Linked DNA regions of Homo sapiens: regions 1, 2, 4 and 5 are each linked to region 3. The links are contacts of gene promoters, found by promoter capture Hi-C in human tissues and cell types (Jung and others, 2019). All regions are on one chromosome and are shown on one strand. The core of a region is centred on a gene start or on the middle of the fragment in contact, and the rest is flanking DNA. Distances in the headings are between cores, read along the strand shown. Region 1 overlaps MED26 (mediator complex subunit 26). Region 2 overlaps MED26 (mediator complex subunit 26). Region 3 holds the start of AP1M1 (adaptor related protein complex 1 subunit mu 1). Region 4 overlaps EPS15L1 (epidermal growth factor receptor pathway substrate 15 like 1). Region 5 holds the start of CALR3 (calreticulin 3).

What was found. Contacts are between HindIII fragments. The study calls those that stand out against the background at their distance.
Region 1: a fragment that was not itself captured here is called in contact with the fragment with the promoter of AP1M1 in region 3 in 1 of the 25 tissues and cell types used here (liver).
Region 2: a contact is called between a fragment that was not itself captured here and the fragment with the promoter of AP1M1 in region 3, in 1 of the 25 tissues and cell types used here (liver).
Region 4: a fragment that was not itself captured here is called in contact with the fragment with the promoter of AP1M1 in region 3 in 1 of the 25 tissues and cell types used here (spleen).
Region 5: a contact is called between the fragment with the promoter of CALR3 here and the fragment with the promoter of AP1M1 in region 3, in 3 of the 25 tissues and cell types used here (lymphoblastoid cells, psoas muscle and spleen).

What each region holds. Positions count from the first base shown.
Region 1 is chr19:16,579,200-16,582,369 of GRCh38, forward strand. All of the region lies in intron 1 of MED26 (mediator complex subunit 26), which reads right to left. Among named protein-coding and RNA genes, the nearest start is that of SLC35E1, 8.4 kb to the left of the region's middle. RefSeq lists a silencer at 2,564-2,613 and an enhancer at 2,791-3,170. The HindIII fragment of the contact is 7,303 bases long and covers 1-3,170 here.
Region 2 is chr19:16,609,522-16,612,633 of GRCh38, forward strand. All of the region lies in intron 1 of MED26 (mediator complex subunit 26), which reads right to left. Among named protein-coding and RNA genes, the nearest start is that of MED26, 17 kb to the right of the region's middle. The HindIII fragment of the contact is 6,796 bases long and covers 1-3,112 here.
Region 3 is chr19:16,196,382-16,199,778 of GRCh38, forward strand. It overlaps AP1M1 (adaptor related protein complex 1 subunit mu 1), which reads left to right and starts at 1,530. Exons shown (of 12, transcript NM_032493.4): 1 at 1,530-1,687. The coding sequence starts at 1,646. RefSeq lists a silencer at 1,674-1,913. The HindIII fragment of the contact is 7,648 bases long and covers 1-3,397 here.
Region 4 is chr19:16,454,442-16,457,652 of GRCh38, forward strand. All of the region lies in intron 1 of EPS15L1 (epidermal growth factor receptor pathway substrate 15 like 1), which reads right to left. Among named protein-coding and RNA genes, the nearest start is that of EPS15L1, 16 kb to the right of the region's middle. RefSeq lists enhancers at 163-662, 2,106-2,864. The HindIII fragment of the contact is 6,990 bases long and covers 1-3,211 here.
Region 5 is chr19:16,494,187-16,497,431 of GRCh38, forward strand. It overlaps CALR3 (calreticulin 3), which reads right to left and starts at 1,981. Exons shown (of 9, transcript NM_145046.5): 1 at 1,853-1,981; 2 at 1,565-1,666. The coding sequence starts at 1,943. C19orf44 (chromosome 19 open reading frame 44) reads left to right here and starts at 2,208. Exons shown (of 9, transcript NM_032207.4): 1 at 2,208-2,279. RefSeq lists enhancers at 1,245-1,745, 1,746-2,246, 1,881-2,310. The HindIII fragment of the contact is 12,389 bases long and covers 1-3,245 here.

The DNA of each region.
Region 1 (3,170 bases), core at 343-2,842, 380 kb after region 3:
ACAGGCCCCCAAGGAGCTGTATCTGGAACACAGAATGCCTGTACAGCAGTACAGCTGACCAGGAGCCCGGCGTAGACTGGCCACAAGACAGGAACAGGCACACGGCAATGAAATGTCAGTGCTGATGCTCAGCCTCTCAGCTTTATCGATAATCAGGAAAACTCAAACTGAACCCACAAATGGATACATGATACACGTGCCCCACTGACAACACTAGGTACTTCGGGGGATACAGCTGACTTTGGGGACTGCTGGGCTTTGTCTGGCAGAGTGAAGCATGAACACATCCCATGACCAAGTAATCCCTCCCTTTTAGGATCTTGCTAGGAGCCACACCTTGTTCTAAGCACTTCCCACACATTACTGACTCCCTTAATTGTTACAACAAGAATTCCTACCACTCAACCACCACCTCCAGCAACTACAGGTTTCTGGTGGGCTGGCTAGCGGGTGGGAGCCCAGGGGCCCTGAGGAAACCACAGTGAGTAGATTACTCAACTCCCCCCCACCCCAACATGATAAAGGAGTTAAGCGGGCACATGATACAAATTAAAACAGCATAAAAGGGCACACAAGGAAATGGGCATCTCTGACCCAGCCACTGTAGCATTTCCTTGCATTTTTTTCCAAAAATATCCCTTGTGTATATAGGCGTATACATCCACACTTATCACATATTTCAAAACCAAACTGACAGTGGTTCTTGCCTTTTCTGACTTAATGTCAGCAATGTCCAGCCTCAAACAGAGCCCCTCATTTGGCTCACCATCCCTTCCAGAGTGGGGAAGGCCCGACTTGAATGCTGTGGGACACTTAGGCACTTTCCGTCCGCCATTACAAAATAAGGCTGCAACCGACGGCAGTGACAGACCTGACTCTGAGCTAGTGCACAGACAGCCATGGAGGAGCTGGGGCTCCACATCCATGCAGGGTGGTCACCTCACCCCCAGGGAGGCTGCTCTATTCCATTCCCACCAGGCCACATCCTTGCCAAGACTGCGTGGCAAGAGTTTCCGTAACACATGATTGTAAACTTAGCATCTTACACAGCACACATTTATCATCTTAGGCTCTAGGGCTCAGAAATCAGGTCTGAGTCTCACTGGGCTGGGATCCTCTCTAGAGGATCCATTTCCTGCTCCTTCAGGTGTTAGCAGAGTTCAGCTCTTATTTTGTTTTTTTTTTTGAGATGAAGTTTCACTCTTGTCGCCCAGGCTGGAGTGCAATGGCACGATCTCGGCTCACTGCAACCTCCGTCTCCTGGGTTCAAGCAATTCTCCTGCCTCAGCCTCCCGAGTAGCTGAGATTATAGGCACCCGCCACCACGCCCAGCTAATTTTTGTATTTTTTTTTAGTAGGGACAGGGTTTCACCATGTTGAAGGCTGGTCTTGAACTCCTGACCTCAGGTGATCTGCCCTCCTCGGCCTCCCAAAGTGCTGGGATTACAAGCGTGAGCCACTGCACCCGGCCCAGAGTTCAGCTCTTTACACTACAGGAATGAGGCCCATTTTCTTGCTGGTTGTCATCCGAAGCCATTCCCAGCTTCTGGAGGGCACTGCATCCAGCTCACACCCCCTCCCCTTATGCTCAAAGCCAGCTACAGGCTGAGTCCTCACCCGGCATCTCTCTGACCCAGCCAGGATAGGTGCCATCTCTAAGGACTCCCTGACTAGGCAGGGCCTGCCCAGATGATCTCGGATCACCTCCCCATCTCCAGGCTGTTCCCTTAGTCACATCTGTCATGTACGGTACCATGTGCCCAGGCTCCAGGACTAGAATGTGGACGTCCTTGAGGGCTGTTAATTCTGCTGGCCTCATGGATTCTGGCTTTTCTACTCTTCTGCCCCACTTCCAGTGGGAGGCAGCCACTGCCACTCCCTCCCTTCCCGTGTTGTCTCCTCTGGGTGTAAAGTTGCAGAGCCACGACAGCAGTCCCCGCAGAACTCCCACAAAGCTGCCCTGCCAATGGGCCCATTTGCTCTTTGGCAACAACGGCCTTGCCTTGCAATGTTCTCCATTCAGGGCTCCAAATGACCCTGAAAACCCTGCTTCAAGCTGTGTCATGGTGGGGGTGGACGGGTGATATGAGGGGAGATACAGTCCTGTCCGCACTCCTCGTGCAATGGGCAGGGATCAGTGCAGGGGAAGACTGTGCGATGAGGAGGCCAGTCCCAGACAGACAGCAAGGCCAACCACTCCCTGCCCCAGGCACTCCAGCACCGACTCAGTCCCTGGGCTTGCCACATGGCTTCACCTCCACCCTGCTGACCTCACCCTGGTATATTTGGAGCCCTGGTTCCCCACATACTCCTGAAGCAGCAGTCCTTGCAGAGCAGAACACTGCCCAGACCCAGCTAGCCTGGTGGCACAAAGTGTCCTTGTCCTTGGGCAGACACCATCCTGCTGCCAGACAAGAGGGAGGAGACAGAACACCTGGGCAACCCCAGGGTCTGGTACTGAGCTGGTGCCCCAGAAATCACCGCTGAACTAACAGCCAGTCCCAAGAGTCTCCTGGAAACTGTGTGGGAGCTGGGGACACCAGGCGAAGGTGTGAGGGCCCTGTGACTGTGTATCCTTACCCTTGGCCCCTCCCCTGCCTTATGAGCCACGCTTAAGCGTGTGCAGAGAGGCCTTCAGCCTCTAGGAGCCCCAAGGGAAATGCTACAGCCTTGGCAGTCCCCTTTCTGTCCCCACCGTGTGAGCTGCTCACCTGAGGAGTAGAGGAGCCCGCCTGCTCTACCTGTAAGGTGCTAGAAACCCACAGTCCTACGCCGTAAACAGATGAACTCTGCCAACACCTGAAGGGGCAGAAAATGGATCCTCCAGAGAGGAGCGCAGCTCGCTGCTTCCTGGATCCCAGCCCGGTGAGACTGGAGCTGACTTCTGAGCCCTAGAGCCTGAGATGATAAATGTGTGTTGTGTAAGACACAGAGAGAGGGTGAGTGTCCAGTGCGGCCACTCCCTGGAGCCAGCAGAAGGCAGTCAGTGATGTCAGCAGAGCTAAGGATGGGGGCAAGGTGAGACTGCCCTGCCCTGCGACCTCTGGGGCATTGATGTCAAGCAGTCTGAACACTGTGTGGGGAGCACCACCTGGGCATCCAGACACAGGCCTCCCAGGCCCAGGAGGCAGACACTGAGCAATGCAGCGAGGAATCCCTGCAAAGGGCCT
Region 2 (3,112 bases), core at 591-3,090, 410 kb after region 3:
CATAAACTTACATGCATATTTACATATGTATATGTATGGATTTCTTTTCTTTTTCCTGAGAGCTGGTTGTCAAATTTTCACCAGCACACCACTGTCTATACCTTAGTATATGCCTTATGTAAATTAGAGCTTCATTATTTTGAAGTGCTTGAAATAGAGTCTGAATGAAACTAAAGTCCATTTGCATTATTGTATTTCAACATTACATATAAATGAAAAGATTAAAGAATCTGGATTTTTTAGAAATGCCAACTCATAAATTTTTCAATGTTTACTAAAAAAAATGCTTCCAAGTTTTATCACCTTCTTGTGCAAACAAAATTTCTCCACAACAATTATCAAAGTCAAGCAAAACAGAAACAAAAACAAAACCCACACCCTAACATATAAAAGTTATGTTCTTGGACACAAGCACTCTTTAAAAAAAAAAAAAAAAAAAAAAAAAGGCAATGTTATTTCAGTAATGTTATTCAAGCCGGGTGTGGTCGCTCACACATGTAACCCCAACCCTTTGGGATGCCAAGGCGGCCAGGAGTTCAAGACCAGCCTGGGCAACACAGCGAGACCGTCTCTATAAAAAATACAAAAATTAGTGAGGTGTGGTGGCTAGCACTTGTAGTTCCAGCTACTTGGGAGGCTGAGGCAGGAGGATCCCTTGAGCCCAGTAGCTCAAGGCTGTAGTGAGCTATGATTGCGCTATTGCACTCCAGCCTGGACAAGTAAAGTTTTTAGAGCAAGACTCTGTCTCTAAAAAATAATAATAATAAGCAAAACCTTGCCTCTAAAAATAATAATAATCATAATGTTATTCAACACAAGTTCAGTATTAACTATGCTCCCTAACACCCTGTATTTTATTTTCCTTATAATTTCTTTTTTTTTTTTTTCAAGACTGAGTTTTGCTCTTGTTGCCCAGGCTGGAGTGCAATGGTGTGATCTCGGCTCACCACAACCTCCGCCTCCCAGGTTCAAGCAATTCTCCTGCCTCAGCCTCCTGGTAGCTGGGATTACAAGCATTAGCCACCACGCCCAGCTCATTTTGTATTTTTAGTAGAGATGGGGTTTCCCCATGTTGGTCAGGCTGGTCTCAAACTCCCGAACTCAGGTGATCCGCCCGCCTCAGCCTCCCAAAGTGCTGGGATTACAGGTTACAGGCGTGAGCCACCATCCTTATAATTTCTATGGTAGAAACAGCACATGCACTTTCCCCTAGTCTCGCCTCCAAATTACCCATTGCACCCTGTGGATGCCACTGTTTCCTATGTGTGCCATGACATGGAAGGCTGAAAGCAGTGTGACAGCAGGAGGGCATGGGCTCTGTATAATGGGTGGCCAGGAGAGGCCTGAAGAAGTCCGACTGTCACAAGAACTGGATGAGGGAGAAGGTTCTCCCACAAGAATGAGGGCAAGGGTTCAAGTTAAGCTGAGAAAGGAAAGAAGGGCCCAAGGCCTGTAGCATGTGTAGATCATGACAATAAGGAATGTGGGCGTCTATTCTAAGGGTGATGGAAAACCACTGAAGGATGTGAAGTGACAGTGGTGTCATCTGCTTATCGGTATGGAAGGGACAGGACCAAGAGGGAAATGGCCAGGGTTGGACTCGAGATGGAGGGCAGAGGAGGGCTGGAGAACATGCATCCTGGCAGTAGCCCCCGGGCCTCACAGGTGGAGTAGGTGACTAAGGTGAGAGGAAGGCAGAGGCATGGACCACTCCAGGGTGTTTAGCAGAGCCATGGGGTGTGGCTTCACTGACTGTGTGGAGAAAACCAGGTGTTGTCCAGTCATTTTTGGTGGGATGGACCTCTGGGAACATGAAGAACATGACTGGTGGCCTTGACTGGAGTGTTATGTTGCACACTAGTGTTCTGAACCTTCCGGAAACGTATGAGAGGGGAACTAATCCTCTCCACTGATTGCAGTACATAGAGGCCCGCAATCCACTCCACAGCCGATTGCTCTCTATAGTGCTCAAGTGCTCTTCAGGCTAGAGCAGCCTACTTTTATTTTCATTTTTTTACAGTTTAATTGAAAAGACAATGGAGCATAGGGGAAAACAAACCAACCCATTCCCCCTGCCCCAACCAACACAAGTGCTTCCATTTTACCCCAAGTTCTAGTTCTTTAGGCATCCAGCCTATCCAGATGCCTGAGTCACAAAACCACTCCTTTCCCCCTCATGGTAAGGCCTGCCCATTTTTCTATAGAGCCTTCAGAATCACGCTTTCGGCTATAGGCTATTTGACTCTGTGGATGCACCATGATTCTGAAGCTTCTCCCATGCTGTTTAAAAATAAACTTCATTAAAAAAAAAAGAAGTAAATGGAGACAAGGTCTTGTTATGTTGGTCAGTCTGGTCTTGAACTCCTTGCCTCAAGCGATCCTGCCACCTTGGCCTCCCAAAGTGTTGGGATTACAGGCGTGAGCCACCAAGCTCAGCCTGTAAATAAACTTCCAAGAGTAAAATTACTGGGTCACAGGACATGAGCATGTCTATGCCTCTTGCTACATAAATAGTTTCCAAGAGGGTGACAGTGGCTCTGAGCTCCTGCCAACAGGGTGATGCAGGTTGTTGGGGGTGGGGTAGGAGATAGGCCGGGAGAGATAAAACAGCAACCCGCTGGCTTAACATCCAGTCTTGATTACCCACCAAGGCCATTCTGCCCACATGTTTTTGTGCAAGGTATATGTTCCAGGTATCAATTACGTCAACATTTTTCTGTCCAGTAAAATCTTGGAGATCTTATGATTATGATTACTTTTTGTGTGTTTGGTTTTTTTCTTGAGACAGGGTCTCGCTCTATCACCCAAGCTGGAGTGCAGTAGCGTGATCTTGGCTCACCCTAGCCTCAGCCTACACAGCTCAAGCGATCCTCCCACCTCAGCCTCCCGAGTAGCTGGGACTACAGGCACATGCCACCAGCCCCACCTAATGTTTGTGATTTCTACTACAGACAAGGTGTCACTATGTTGCCAAGGTTGGTCTCAAACTCCTTGCCTCAAGCGATCCTCCCACCTCGGTCTCCCAAAGTGCTGGGATTACAGGCTGGAGCCACCATGCCTAGCCACAATTGTTGATTCTAAAGTATGTCTCTACACAGGAAGAATATTGGCT
Region 3 (3,397 bases), core at 280-2,779:
GGGTCCAGGTGCTGGGGTGATTACCCTTATCTTATCTCCTGCTAAATCATGGAGGTTTGGGGGAGTTCCTTCAAACCCCAATAAACTTGTTTGTGGAGGCCTGAGGAGTTTCTTCAGACCGCCAATAAAGCTTGTTTAATCCTAAAAGGGTCCTGTTAAGAATTCCTTCATTATCTTGTCATGCTTCAAGGCCCAGGAAAGGCCTAGGCACAACTCTGGGTGGGCTTTTGTTACATCCCAGCCTTTGTATAAGGGCACTGGCTCTCTTATCTTTTAATATTTAACTTAACCCTTGTAATCCCAGCACTTTGGGAGGCCGAGGTGGGTGGATCACGTGAGGTCAGGAGTTTGAGACAAGCCTGGCCAACATGGTGAAACCACGTCTCTACTAAAAATACAAAAATTAGCTAGGTGTGGTGGCACATGCCTGTAATCCCAGCCACTTGAGAGGCTGACACACAAGAGAATCACTTGAACCCAGGAGGCAGAGGTTGCAGTGAGCCGAGATCATGCCATTGCACTCCAGCCTGGGTGACAGAGTGAGACTCCATCTCAAAAAAAAAAAAAAAAAAAAAAGCAAACAACAAAAACCCTCTCTTGGCTGCTTGCTCTGTGCCTTGAGCAAGAATCCTTCCAGCCCAGGAGTCACTTAGCAGTCTTCAAACATTCTAGTTTGCTTCTCTAGAGTTTCGGTCACATTTCTTTCCTAAGCAAAACACTATATAATTACCGAGTTGCAAAAATCATCTTTCCAAACGCCAAAACGGAGATAAGACAGAAAATAAAAGATGTGAGAGGCAGGCATCCTGGGTAAATCACTCTGGTATTGCAGGGTTGGGATCCCCAGGGTACTATGATGGCTAACTGGAACAGAATGCAGGCATTTCTCCAAAGCCCAAGAGTTCATAAAAGCAAATTAAATATGACTCAATGGATTAATCAAGGGCCACCAGTTGCATTACTGATTACTAACTTTGCAGAAATGAAACACGGTATGTTGGGTCAAGGTTCAGTGAGGCTGGTTTTCATAACATTCCAGGCAATAAACAGGCACACTCATTCATTGATAAATGTTGACAATGACAGGTGGTGACTGTTGATAAGGTTTGATTGCCATTCAGAAAGTTTGTTTGACCTCTTTCCAAGTAACCACGACCTTACCTCTCTCTTTTGAGCTTATCACAATTGGTGACTGTACACTTGTTTCATAGACTTCCCCACCAGACTGTGAGCTCCATAGGGCTGGGCCCCAGGTCGGTTTCACCACCAGGCTCTCTCGCCTAACTCGGCCCACGGGAGGCCGTTTCCAGCTGCTCTGGCTCCATAGCTCAGCCTGGCAGCGGCCACTGGGTGCCCTGATTTGGTCGGCCCCGCCCCACCGGGCCTTACTTCCGGGATGCTTCTGGCGGGAGCAAGAAACATGGTTACATACGACGTAATGCGCCTGCGCACAGTCCGTCCTGCGCCTGCGCATTCCTGACAGCACCTCCCGGACCGGACATAACGGTCCCCGCGCGGCTCCCCGAACCGGAAGTGGAGGTGAGCTGTCGCGGGCGGCGCCCGGCCTTGCTCAACGCCCAGCAGTCCCCACCGTCGCTGCCGCCGCCACCGCCCTCGGCCGCTGCCGAGGCCTCCTGCAGCCATCATGTCCGCCAGCGCCGTCTACGTGCTGGACCTGAAGGGCAAGGTACTGAGGGCTCCCCACCCTCCCTGTTGCCAGGCAACCGGCAGGGGCCTCCGCCCGCGGGGACCCACCCTGTTGCTAGGTAACCGGCTTATGAGCCCCATCCTGGTGTGAGGCAGAGAGGCCGGTAGACCTCACCTGAGAGCCCCATCCTGTTTCTGGGTAACCGGGCGGGGGTCTTAAGTGGGTAATCCCCGCCCTGTTGCTACGTAACGCGGTGGGCTGCAGCCACCGCGTTGCCAGGTAACTGACTGCACCGCCCTCTGCTCCCCGGCGCCGGGGCCGGGGGCTCGGGCCTCGGTGGAGGACCCAGAAGCGGGGCCGCAGCCGGCCTCGGAGCCAGGCAGGGCGTCCAGGGGCTGCGCGACCCTTGGCCGGGGGTGGCGAGGCGTGGCGGGGACTGGGTGCTCTCGAGCCAGTCCCGCCTTCTCAGGGCGTTACAGCTTCTGTTTATCGTGCACTTTCTCTCAGTAGGAATTTCTCCACGTTCATTGTGATAGTGAGTTACAAGGATTAGGTGAGGTGAGTGGTGATCACGAGTGCCGTTTTATAGAGGGAGAAACTGAGGCATGGAGAGGTGAAGCAACCTGACCAAGGTCACAATGGTCACAGAGAAGTAGCAAGTCTAGGAGTCCGATCCAGAATCATTCGTTTATTCAGCTGATATCTGGGGAGCACCTACTAATGCCGGGCAGGGTACTAAGCCTGGGGTCGATTTGTGTTTAGCAAAAAACAGTCCCTTTTTTTTTGTTTTGTTTTTGAGATAGTGTCATGCTCAGTCGTCCAGTCTGGAGTGTAGTGGTGCAATCTCCACTCACTGCAACCTCCGCCTCCCGGGTTCAAGCAATTTTCCTGCCTCAGCCTCCCAAGTAGCTGGGATTACAGGCACCTGCCACTACGCCGAGCTAAATTTTGTATTTTTAGTAGAGGCAGGGTTTCACCATGTTGACCAGGCTGGTCTCGAACTCTTGACCTCGAGTGATCCACCTGTCTTAGCCTCCCAAAGTGCTGGGATTACAGGTGTGAGTCATGTGCCAGGGCTCAACAATCTGTGTTCTTACGGTGTTCACAGGCTGGTAGGGGAGATGGATACCCATCTCCAAAAACACAAATAAATGTCAATTGCAGTGGTGTTGAGGGGCGAGTGTGTTATACAGACAGTCAGCCTCAGCCCGAGGATGAGAGAGGGTTTCCCTGAGGAGGGGTGACAAATGGACCAGAGACACCAGGGAGCTGGACATAAACTAGAACCCAGGCATCTTCCCCAGAGGATCTGAGAAAACTTTAAGAAGGGATTGTCCCCACCTTTTAGAAATGGTCCTCTGCCTTCTCCTAAGTCCATCCCAGGTGCAAGGCAGGTGGCTGCCTGGCCTGTTGCATGTGGAAGCAACAAGAACCGGTCCAACAATGTGAAGCCCAACATTGATCAGTGAGAGAAACAAACATGGGTGTCAGGTCCTAGGTGAGGCGGGCAGGGGTGAGCCCTAAAGCAGCTGAGAGTGAAGAGGTGAAATGGCTGCCCCTTCCCGCCCCACCCCACCCCCAGCACTTTCCTGAAGTCCCTTGAGTGGGTGCCTGCTCTGGAAGCCACCCAAAGTCAACAACTGGTGAGACCCAGTGCTGGGCTTCCCTCCCCCGCCTTCTTGGAAGGAGGGAAGACACCCGTCTTAGAGCACGCCAGGGGCTGGGTGGTGCGGTGGAATGAGTCCTGGT
Region 4 (3,211 bases), core at 337-2,836, 260 kb after region 3:
CTTCCTATGTTCCCTGGTGTACTATGTCAGCATGAGCTGCTTTTGTAAATTAGACAGAAATAGAAAGATGTGCAAGGAAAAGCAGGATCTGAAGGAATTTTCATGGATTCTCCCCAGGGACCCAAATGAGTGCCTTGTGAGACCAGCAGAAGACGAACATGCTCGGGGCTCAAGGCCTCCATCCAAACCAGACAGAACTCAGGGCCTACAGTGGGGCATGGCACAGGGGTAAGGCCTACAGTCGCTGCCCTGGAGAGGAACCAACAAGCAAGAGAACTGCCCCGAGCATTTAGACATGCAGCAAAGCAGCAAGGTCAATGACATGGACCAGGAAGGTCGTCAGAACACAGAATCAAGGTTTGAAAGCTTTCTTTTTTCTTTTTTTTTTTTTTAAGAGACAGCTCTGGGCCAGGCATGGTGGCTCACACCTGTAACCCCAGCACTTTTGGGGGCTAAGGTGGGTGGATCACCTGAGGTCAGCAGTTTGAGACCAGCCTGGCCAACATGGTAAAAGCCTGTCTCTACTAAAAATATAAAATTAGCCAGGTGTGGTGGCGCACACCTGTAATCCCAGCTACTTGGGAGGCTGAGGCAGGAGAATTGCTTGAACTAGGGAGGCAGAGGCTGCAGTGAGCCAGGATCACATCATTGCACTCCAGCCTGGGCAACAAGAGCGAAACTCCATCTCAAAAAAAAAAAGAGAGACAGCTCTGTTGTCCAGGCTGGAGTGCAGTGGCACGACCATAGCTCACTGTAGCCTCAAATTCCTGGGCTTAAGTGATCCTCCTGCCTTAGCCTCCTGAGTAATTGGGACCATAGCCATGCACCACCATGTGTGGCTAATTTTTTTTTTCTTTTTTTTGTAAAGATTGGGGGGGTCTCATTATTTTGCCAGGCTGGTCTTGAACTCCTGGCCTCAAGCAATCCTCCTGCCTTGGCCTCCCAAAGTGCTGGGATTACAGGCATGAGCACCAAACTCAGCATTCCAGAAACAGAACTGCTGGAGAAAAAACATTGCCTGCAGCAGGCTTCCTGCCTCGATGCACTGCCCTGTGGAGGATGCAGGACTATGCTGAGCCCTAAACGTCTTCAGGAGAGACTGCCCAGCTCCATCTACACCTATGGGCTGTGTTCTCCCATCTTGCTTCACTAAGAGAAGCTGTCTCATGTGGAGGTCAACAGTGCTGCCAGACAAATGTGGATTTGAGTCCTGTCCTGCTGCTGGAATGCTGTGCAACCCTGGGGCAGGACGAGCAGCCTCTCTGTGCCTCAGCTTCTGCATCTGGAGATGAGGGTGAGCACTCCCACCCCCGGGGACTTGTCAATCACCGGCTGTTGTGATTCCTGGTATCCTCCTCATCGCCCTCCTTCCACTGGCTCCAGGTAAAAATGTACCCTCTCCCCAGAAACATCCCTCCATCTCTCTTCCACCTCCAGCTACTGACCTCCCCCCACCCTTCGCATAAAACCTCCTGAAAGCCAGGCGCAGTGGATCACACCTATAATTCCAGCAATATGGGAGACCAAGACGGGTGGATCACCTGAGGTCAGGAGTTCGAGACCAGCCTGACCAACATGGAGAAATCTTGTCTCTACTAAAAATATAAAATTAGCTAGGCATGGTGGCACAGGCCTGTAATCCCAGCTACTCAGGAGGCTGAGGCAGAAGAATCATTTGAACCCAGGAGGCAGAGGTTGCAGCGAGCCGAGGTTGTGCCATTGCACTCCAGCCTGGGCAACAAGAGGAAAACCCTGTCTCAAACAAACAAACAAAAAACCCTCCTGAAAAAGGGTCCACCCTTGGATTCCCCAGCTCTCCCTTCTTTGGACCTGGAAATTTATTTGTTTGCTCACTCAATCAACACATGCTGAACTCGTGCTAAGAGGCAGCACTGAGGATACAAAAGTGTGTAGGACAGAGTCCTGGGCTTCAGGCCAGGCGTGGTGGCTCACGCCTGTAATCTCAGCACTTTGGGAAGCCAAGGTGGGTGGATCACATGAGGTCAGGAGTTCGAGACCAGCCTGGCCAACATGGTGAAACTCTATCTCTACTAAACATATAAAAATTAGCTGGGCGTGGTGGCGGGTACCTGTAATCTCAGCTACTTGGGAGGCTGAGGCGGGAGAACCGCTTGAACCCAGGAGGCTAGAGGTTGCAGTGAGCCAAGATGATGCCATTGCACTCCAGCCTGGGTGACAAGAGTGAAACTCCATCTCAAAACAAAAACAAAAACAAAACAAACAAAAAATAGAGTCCTGGGCTTCAGGAAGGGCAGGCGGGACAAAGTCAGCCCAGGACTATGGCACAGGGGACCGCATGATATGACTGCAGCAGTAGGCACAGTGAGGGGAACTCAGGGCTTGGGGCCAGGTGTGCACCGGGACAGAGAAGACAGGTGAGCTGTGGGTGATTCAGCACGGCCCCAGTCAGGTGGAAGGGCATGTGCATAGGATGCCAGGGTCTGTGCACGCTGTGCTGAAAAGACAGGATGTCATCCCCAGGGCAAGCAGAACATGGGGAGGGGGTGCCTGCAGGCCAGCAAGGTGGGCGCATATGCATATGAGATGGTAAACGGCAGAAATCCGCTGCAAGGAGCAGGGCTGGAAGGAAGTGATCAGAGAGAGACTGCCATGGCCCTCCAGCAGCAGAACTCCAGCAGCCTGGGGACTGCAGCGACTCACAATGCAGACACCCGGAGAAGGAGGACATGCCAGTTCCCTAAAAACGAATGTGTTTCCTTGGGATGTCCCCAGGGGCATTGAGGTGGAAATCTAATTGCCATTCTAGACACCTTGGTGCAGGTGTGGAGGTGAACAACGGGACATTCCCCACCCACAGCCTCATGGAGCTGTGACAAAGCACAGAGACGGCTGCCAAGAGCTAGATGGAAGAGACAGGATGGAGGGCCAGTCCGCAGCCAGCAGCAGACATACACCCAGGGCACCAGGAGACCTGGAAGGCCCCCCCTCCATGGCTGAGCCTGTCCAGGGAGACTCAGTCAAGCGAGGCTGTGGAGCACCCGCACCAAAGCAGTGCCAGAGACAGGCTTGCCACGGGGAGGGAGGGAGGAGGCTCCACCACAGGAAATACCAGGGCAGCTGGGTCCTGGAGGGATGGAGGGGCGGGCGTGTAGGGAAGGGCTCAAGGGTCTTGTGCAGCCATGCAGAGGGCAGAAGGGATGGAACTGGAATGGCGCCCGGGCAGGAGGGG
Region 5 (3,245 bases), core at 731-3,230, 300 kb after region 3:
ATTAGCTGGGATTATAGTTGTGCGCCACCACACTTGGCTAACTTTTTTGTATTTTTGTGGAGACAGGGTTTCACCATGGTGACCAGGCTGGTCTCAAACTCCTGACTTCAAGTAATCCGCCTGCCTTGGCCTCCCAACATGCTGGGATTACAGGCGTGAGCCACCGTGCCTGACCATATTTTTCTTTTTTTTTGAGATGGAGTCTCACTCTGTCACTGAGGCTGGAGTGCAGGGGCATGATCTCTGCTCACTGCAACCTCTGCCTCCCGGGTTCAAGTGATTCTTCTGCCTCAGCCTCCCGAGTAGCTGGGACTACAGGCATGAGCCACCACACCCAGCTAATTTTTGTATTTTTAGTAGAGACAGGGTGTCACCGTATTGGCCAGACTGGTTTTGAACTCCTGACCTCATGATCCGCTCGCCTAAGGCCTCCCAAAGTGCTGGGATTACAGGCATGAGCCACCGCGCCTGGCCTATTTTTCTTTTTAATACGAAAATTAAAATGAGAAAAAGTACCCACTAACCTTTTCCTTCTGAGGGGCATGGCCCTTGATCCTCAAATGCACTTGACTAGTGTCTATTAAGAGGGGCAATTTTGGTAATGCCTACTAATAACACATTCATATAAATATAATCCAAAGAAGGTTAAATACCATTGCATATTTGACAGTGCTTCAAGTATGATTTTATTATACCAAATAAGCTGAATATGTCTCCTTGGACTTCAGGGGACCTAATACCAATAAAAGTAATAATAATGATAATAGGCCAAGCACCATGGCTCACGCCTATAATCCCAGCACTTTAGGAGGCCGAGGCAGGTGGATTACTTAAGGCCAGGAGTTTGAGTCCAGCCTGGGCAATGTGGTGAAACTCTGTCTCTAAAAAAATTAGCAGGGCATGGTGGCGCACGCTTGTAATCGCAGCTCCTCAGAAGCCTGAAGCAAGAGAATCACTTGAACCCGGGAGACGGAGGTTTGAGTGAGCCAAGATCGTGCCACTGCACTCTAGCCTAGGCGACAGAGCGAGACTCCTACTACCAAAAAAAAAAAAAAAAAAAAAAAGGAATCTTTGGCAATAAAGAAAGGAGAGAGGAGGCTGGATGTTGTGGCTCATGCCTGTAATCCCAGCACTTTGGGAGGCCAAGGTGGGTGGATCATGAGGTCAGGAGTTCGAGACCAGCCTGGCCAACGTGGACCCTGTCTCTACTAAAAGTACAAAAATTAGCCGGTCATGGTGGCGCGCGCCTGTAGTCTCAGCTACTCGGGAGGCTGAGGCAGGAGAATTGCTTGAACCCGGGAGGTGGAAGTTGCAGTGAGCCGAAATCGCGCCACTGCACTCCAGCCTGGGCAACAGAGCAAGGCTCCGTCTCAAAAAAAAAAAAAAAAAAAAAGGAGAGAAGAAACAAAAAAACAAGGAAAGGAGCCCCTTAAGTTCTACCTTTGCCTTAATGTCTTCATCTGTAAAACGGGAATAAAAGCGTTTTGGCTGTGCCACAACTACCTAGAGAGGTTGCTATGGAAATGTAACATTAGGCTCAATTTGGTCCTGATTCTACACTAACCTTTATCTTTCTCTTTATGACCATAAAACTTGCCCGACGAAAGTCTAAAATGCCCAAATCGGGAGTCATTGGTGGACTGCAACCATCGGTTTCTCCAATGCTCTGTGGGGAAGGGGAAATAACACCGGTTAGAGGTGATAATGGTTAATTTGGGCTAAGGGAAGGGTGAAGGGGACCCTCGAGGATTCGAGGGTTCGCTGCCGTGGACCCCGTGGCGACTCTGGCCAGCCTTAGGGGGCGGAGATGGGGGAGCTTACACCTCCGCCACCACGGGCGTGGCCCCTTCACCTCCGTCTAGAAATTCCTCTTGGAAATAGACGGTAGCCAGCGCCACTCGCAGCATGCATATGGCCCAGAGCTGGACCAAAGCCCGGGCCATGGGGGTGTGCACTGCGCTTCCGGTCGCCGCCACCCCTTAGCTCCCAGCTCTCTCTGCGGCTCTTCAGGCGCGTCCCGAAACTACAACTCCCGTCACAACTCGCGATTATGACCTGAGGGTCCCATTGGTCGCTGCGGCGCGGGGCACGTTGGGCCCGCCCCGGAACTACCGCTCCCATGACACCCCGCGATTGTGATTCGGGGCGCCATTGGTCTGCGGGGCGCGGTGCTTCCCGGGAGATGTAGTCTCTTCTGCTCTGGCTCTGTTGCCCAGGGCAACCGCTCCTTCAGGCGTGAATGTGGCGGCTGCCTCTGCGAATGGACGGCGTGGGAAGAGGTCGGCAGGGCTGGTGGGGAGGTGACCTAGCTGGGCGTCCGGGCTCGCGAGGGGGATACGGGGAAATGGGGCCTTCTCCGGGGCTGAGCTGGTTGGGCCGCTGCAGGATGGTCCCGCGCCTCAGTTTCCCTGTCTGGGGTCTATTGGAGCATGGTCCTGCGCGGGTCGCTTCATAGCTGGGGAGAAGAGCAGGATGGTCTCAGGGGCGCCAGGGTTTTCAAGTTTTGGTTTGTTGATTTGTAACAACTTTATTGAGCCTTCATTTACATACCATAGTGTTCGCCACTTTTAAGCTGACGACTCCGTTATTTTTAGTAAATCTACAAAGTTGTGAAGCCGTCGCCACCATCCAGCTCATCCAGCTTTAGAACTTTGCGTCAGGCCGGGCGCGGTGATTCACGCCTGGAATCCCAGCACTTTGGGAGGCAGAGGCGGGAGGATCACTTGAGGCCAGGAGATCCAGACCAGCCTGGGCAACCTGGCGAGACCCCATCTCTAAAAAAGATAAAAATAAAAAATTAGCCAGGTGTAGTGGCACGCGCCTGTAGTCCCAGCTACTCAGGATGTTGAGGCAGGAGGGAGGATTGCTTGTGTCCAGGAGGTCAAGGGCTGCTGTGAGCTGTGATCATGCCACTGCACTCCGGCTAATTTTTTGTATTTTTAGTAGAGATGGGGTTTCACCATGTTTGCCACGCTGGTCTCGAACTCCTGACCTCACGTAATCTGCCAGCCTTGGCCTCCCAAAGTGCTGGGATTATAGGCGTGAGTCACAGCACCGGCCCGATCTGCTTTCTGAGTTTATTGGTTTGCCTTTTCTTGACAGTTCTTACAAATGAAATGATAGGGTGTGTGGAGTTTAGTGTCTGGCTACTTTCTTTTTTCTTTCCTTTTTTTTTTTTTTTTGAGACAGATTCTCGCTCTGTTACTTAGGCTGAAGTGCAATGGTGCGATCTCGGCTCACTGCGA